Linked DNA regions of Homo sapiens: region 1 is linked to region 2. Evidence: promoter capture Hi-C in human tissues and cell types (Jung and others, 2019). All regions are on one chromosome and are shown on one strand. Each heading gives the region's core, a stretch centred on a gene start or on the middle of the fragment in contact. The rest is flanking DNA. Distances are from core to core; before and after follow the strand shown. Region 1 has its middle 36 kb from the start of MEAK7. Region 2 holds the start of HSDL1 (hydroxysteroid dehydrogenase like 1).

What was found. Contacts are between HindIII fragments. The study calls those that stand out against the background at their distance.
Region 1: a fragment that was not itself captured here is called in contact with the fragment with the promoter of HSDL1 in region 2 in 1 of the 25 tissues and cell types used here (IMR-90 fibroblasts).

Annotation. Positions count from the first base shown.
Region 1 is chr16:84,538,786-84,541,657 of GRCh38, reverse strand. No RefSeq gene overlaps it. Among named protein-coding and RNA genes, the nearest start is that of MEAK7, 36 kb to the right of the region's middle. RefSeq lists a silencer at 301-595. The HindIII fragment of the contact is 4,984 bases long and covers 1-2,872 here.
Region 2 is chr16:84,143,825-84,146,549 of GRCh38, reverse strand. HSDL1 (hydroxysteroid dehydrogenase like 1) reads left to right here and starts at 1,373. Exons shown (of 6, transcript NM_031463.5): 1 at 1,373-1,470. DNAAF1 (dynein axonemal assembly factor 1) reads right to left here and starts at 1,242. Exons shown (of 12, transcript NM_178452.6): 1 at 986-1,242. The coding sequence starts at 1,109. RefSeq lists silencers at 1,189-1,638, 1,799-1,848, 1,899-1,948. The HindIII fragment of the contact is 9,646 bases long and covers 1-2,725 here.

The DNA.
Region 1 (2,872 bases), core at 67-2,566, 400 kb before region 2:
AAGGCATAAGGAATGTGGTTTTAAGAGGATGAAGCTGGACACAGTGGCTCATGCCTGTAATCCCAGCACTTTGGGAGGCCGAGGCAGGCAGATCACTTGAGGTCAGGAGTTCAAGATCAGCCTGGCCAACATGGCAAAAGCCCATCTTACAAAAATTACAAAAATTAGCCAGGTGTGGTGGTGTGCGCCTGTGGTCCCAGCTACTCAGGAGGCTGAGGTGGGAGAATCGCTTGAGCCCAGGAGGCGGAGGTTGCAGCGAGCTGAGATCACACCACTGCACTCCAGCCTCGGCAACGATGAGACCCTGTCTAAAAAAAAAAAAAAAGGATGGAGCCTGCAGCCACACTACTTGGATTCAGAATCCTAACTCTACTCAATCCCCACTGAGTGACCACTCCAGGCCTCGGTTTGCTTCATCTTGAAAATGGAGATGATAAACAGCTCCTGACTCACAGCTTGTCATGAGGATTAAATGAGGTGATACCTGTAATGTGCTCAGAACAGGGGTTGGAATGTTACAAACATATAGCAAGGGTTGGCTATTGATTACTAGGTACAATGGTCACTATTTTGTTCATCATAGAACGAAAGCCCAGCAAGAACCCCTGTGAACATTTGTGGGAATATTCTGCTGGGCTTGTATTAGTGCCTACGTAATATGCACATGCAGACACCAAATGTGCAGATTCACACATGTATACTGTTTTGTTATCTGTTTCTTGGCGACTCTAAATTTTTTCTTTTCTTTTCTTTTTTTTTGAGATGGAGTCTTGCTGTGTCACCCAGGCTGGTGTGCAGTAGAGCAATTTCAGCTCACTGCAACCTCCGGCTCCTGGGTTCAAGTGATTCTCCTGCCTCAGCCTCCCAAGTAGCTGGGACTACACCTCAGCCTCCCAAGTAGCTGGGTGCATGCCATGATGCCTGGCTAATTTTTGTATTTTTAGTAGAGACAGGGTTTCGCCTTGTTGGCCAAGCTAGTCTCGAACTCCTGACCTCAGGTTATCTAGCCGCCTCAGCCTGCCAAAGTGCTAGGATTACAGGCGTGAGCCACCATGCCCGGCCTAAATTTTCTTTCTGTGTCATTGTTGGGAGACAGTTCTCCATGGGTCTCTCAGGTTTCTACATGTCTTGCAAGTAGAAGAACTATCTTTACAAGGATGTTTATATAGCAAACAACTTTGTTAGACAGAGACAGTGTGTCCCCTCAGATCAAAGGGCAAATTTGTTTTCTGTCCAATATAGATAGATGTTTGCCCCCAGGGCAAGGATCAGGATTTCTTATAAGAAATTTGGGCTCCCTGAGCTCAGGGATCCTCAGCTGTGAGAAATGTGCTGTGTGCGCAACACCCACCCCTTCCGGGCCCCTTTGCATGGCCCCTGTGGGACTTGGGGACAAGGGAAACCGATGCAAACATAAAGCTCATGCTACTTGCTGTGCTGCGAGTAATAAAGTCACTTGTCTCTGACCCAGGAGGCTCGTGTCTTCTGCCAGCAACCATGGCACTGCAGCAGGCTCACCTGGGGGCTTTCACAGAGGGTCAAATCCCAGCTCATCCATGGGCCTTGAGAATCATGAAACAGTCTTCCCCAGCATCACTTCCAGGTTCTACCAGAGTCCCCTCATTTGGCCCCTCTATCATTCTTTGGGTTAATCTTCCATCTTTGGAAACGTAGCTTGCTTTCCATTTTGTCACTGTTTTAAACAATGCTGTAGTGTGCACTTGTAGCTGAGCTTCGTTCTCATGTGACTACCCCGATACTGTAAATCAGAGATTCTGAGGAGTGTTGGCAGGACCCCTGATGCCAGCAAGTTCAGCCTCTTGATGCCCATCGCACATTGAGGCCTAGTGGGTCCTGAGCCACTGGGAGTTCCCCTCACCCCTCATTCTCCACTGGCCTCTCTCCCTGGGCCTGTAGAATCTTCCCAGCCTCCCTCATCCTCCCGAGTCTCCCTGGGGGGCATTTAACACACTGGACTCTAATTGAGGGGTCCTTTCTCTCCAGATCCTGAGCTCTTTGAGGGCAGGGACTTCCTCATCCTTGTGTCCCCAGGACCTGGCACATTGGGTGCTCATCCAATGTTAACAGAACCTAAACAGAAACCATCAACAGATTCAAAAAGGACATCCAGGCACCGTACGTTAGGGCGTCGAGCCTACTGGTTCACTCTCGTACCTCTGTACTCCAGGAGGTATTCTGAGTGTCGCAGAATCACATCTACTGTCAGGGAGCTGCAGTCAAAGGAAACCAAGGACTGGAAGGAAGAGTTGCACTGAGGAGGGGCAGAGTCAGCTCCTTAACCTCCCTAAGGCTTCTCACAGTGAGCCCTCTAGAAAGGTTTATTTATTTATCTTTTACTTTTACTTTTTGATTTGTATTATTTATTTATTTATTTATTTGAGATGGAGTCTAGCTTTGTTGCCTAGGTTGGAGTGCAGTGGCGTGATGTCGGCTCACTGCAATCTCCACCTCCCAGGTTCAAGTGATTTTCCTGCCTCAGCCTCATGAGTAGCTGGGATTACAGGCATGTGCCACCACACCCGGCTAATTTTTGTATTTTTAGTAGAGATGGGGTTTCATCATGTTAGCCATGCTGGTCTTGAACTCCTGACCTCAGGTGATCCGCCTGCCTTGGCCTCCCAAAGTGCTGGGATTACAGATATGAGCCACCACGCCCGGCCTTATTTTTATTTTTTAAGCCCCCATTCTGAGAAGCAACTTTTATTTTTTATTGAGATACAGTATATACAGAGAAGTGCACACGTCTGAAGTGTACAGCTCCAAGAACACTCACACACTAAGCACAACCATGCAATGGCATTCAGGTCAATAACACACTAGTGTCAGCCCCCAAGCCCCACTTCATGCCCCC
Region 2 (2,725 bases), core at 124-2,623:
AGACAGGGTTTCAATATGTTGGCCAGACTGGTCTCGAACTCCTGACTTCAGGTGACCCACCTGCCTCTGCCTCCCAAATTGCTGGGATTACAGGCGTGAGCCACCGTGCCTGGCCATGAAGGTTATCTTTCAAGTCCATTCTGGCAAACTTTGGTGAGGGGATCACACACTGACCCCAGAACCAAGTCTTCATTCGGACTCTCTACCCTAGGTCAGGCACTGGACTAGACTCCAAATTCAATCAAGATGTCTTGCCCTGACACAACATGCAGTCTGGAGGGAGAGAAAGCCTTTGATCTTACATAGTGATAGCAATAAAGGGACACATTTAAAGCATCAAAGTTGGGACCAGGGAGAATAGCGTGGTGGGTTAGGGCTGGGGCTCTGGAGACCCAGACTGTCTGGGCCTGAGTCTGGTGGGTTTTGTTTGCTTGTTTGTTTGTTTGTTTGTTTGAGACGGAGTCTCCCACTGTCGTCCGGGCTGGAATGCAATGGCGAGATCTTGGCTCACTGCAACCTCCGCCTCCCGGGTTCAAGCGATTCTCCTGCCTCAGCCTCCCAAGTAGCTGAGACTACAGGCGCCCGCCACCACGCCCAGCTCATTTTTTGTATTTTTAGTAGAGACAGGGTTTCACTATGTTGGCCAGGCTGGTCTCGAACTCCTGACTGACCTGATGATCCGCCCGCCTCGGCCTCCCAAAGTGCTGGAATTACAGGCGTTGAGCCACCGCACCCGGCCAAGTCTCTTCTGTCACTGACTAGCCGAGGGTTATCTGTTTGGTGCAAGTTTTGTAACCTCTTAAGTATGTTTCCTCCTCAGTACGAAATGGCGAGAGAAGCCCCTACTGCAGAGCGTTGCTTGCTACCATTATTATTATTGTTATTATTTGGCTGTGAAGATCGGGTATGTGGTGTGGGAAGGGGGCTGGAGCGCCTAGCCGTGTCTGCCCCTCGCCCACCGCCCTCCCTGGGGGGCAGTCGGCACCTTCCTTGCAGCCCCCTCGGCCTGCGCTCCCGTGGTCACCCGCAGACTCCTCCACGCCGGGCTCCTGCGCGCAATCCAGCTCTGCTGCACCACCTGTCGCAGGCTCCGAGGGCTCAGGGTGCATGTTTACTTCGGCGACACCGAACGCCCCGCAGCTTTGGGGGGCCCAGGTTCGCGGCGGACGTCGCTACGGCCCCAGCCCAGCCAGAGAGTACCCTCTTTCCTTCTTCGCCAGCCGCTGGCGCCCTAGTCTTTACAGCCCAACGCTTCCCCGGTCGCCCAGGCAACCGCTGCGCACGCGCACTCGGGACGGACCGGCGCGCTGGGGACGCCGGGGGGTGGGGGCGGGTCTGAGACGGCTCCGCCCCCGGCGCGTACGCGGGTCACGTGAGGGCGCGGCGCGGCAGCAGCTCCGGCGGCCGAGACGGGGGCGGCGGCCGCGCGGGTCTGGCGGGACCGGTTTGGAAGACTTTGCCGGCCTGCAGGTACCGCGCCCCCCGCGCCCTGGGCGCCCTCTCGCGGTCCTTTCGCCCCAGACCCCTCCTCGGTCCCCTCAGCGCCAGCCGGCTGCTTGGCGAGACCCCTCTGAGCTCTCACCACGCCCCCCAGGCCCCGGGCCCCCTCCGCTGCATCCGGCCCCGAAGCCCCTTGGCGCCCCTGACCCCAGGAAATCTTCGTCCCTCCGTCCCGTGAGACTCCTTCCTTCAGACCAAAAAGCCCCAGCCCCGCCCCTTCACATCTCAGAGCCCCCCTTCCCCCGGCTCCATCCTCACGCCCCCCGCCGCGGCGCTGCACCCCTGTTCTCTCTCTTCCCCCGGGCCTTGCCCCCCAAACCGCGAACCCCGTTGTCGCCGGCGCATGCCCTGCCCTCCCTGCAGCCTCTCACCCGGCTCCTCCCCCGAGCGGCCCCAGCAATCGCCTCCTTTGTCGGTGCTTCTTTATTCTCATTTCTGAACGATTTGGTTTGAGTTGTTGTTGCCGTGTTTTTCTAAAATGGAAATATGCAGCGGTCGTGGGTTCAGCCAGGATTTCCGAGTTTGCTCGTGTTGACTGGGCCTTGCCGGGTGCTGGAGGGGAAGGGCTGGGAAGAAGAACCAGGCAGGTCCCCGTTCTGAACGTGCCACCCAGACGCAGCCCCAGAAACCGGATCGCTGCAGCGCCCCTCGGCGATCCCAACATGATGTGTACAGGTGACTGCGAGGCAGTCGGGGGGTCTCACAGTGGGCTCCCTGGACAGGACTCTGCGCCTTGCTATACCTCCATCTGAATTGCAGGTAGCCCCTTTCTGAGTTGTGGGGTCTTGGGTGTGCGACTTTACATCTATAAGACTCAATTTCCCCATCTATAAACGGGAGAGTCTGACTGCGCTTTATAAGATTAATGAGAGAATAAAGTGAGACAATAGGAATAAAGCACTTAGCAGAGTCTTTTGCATAAAGTGAGCTCTCAATTTTACTCTGACCGCCACAGGAGAGAGAGAGAGAGAGAGAGGGAGGGAGGGAGAGGGAGAGGGAGGGGGAGGGGGAGGGTGTTGATTGATTGATTGATTCAGACAATCTCGCTCTGTCGCCCGGGCTGTAGTGCAATGGTGCCTGCGATCTCAGCTCCTGCTACCTCTGCCCGCCATCCCGCACCCCGGGCCCAAGTGATTCTCCTGCCTCAGCCTTCCGAGTAGCTGGGATTACAGGCACGTTCTACCACACCCAGCTAATTTTTTTTTTTTTTTTTTTAGTAGAGACG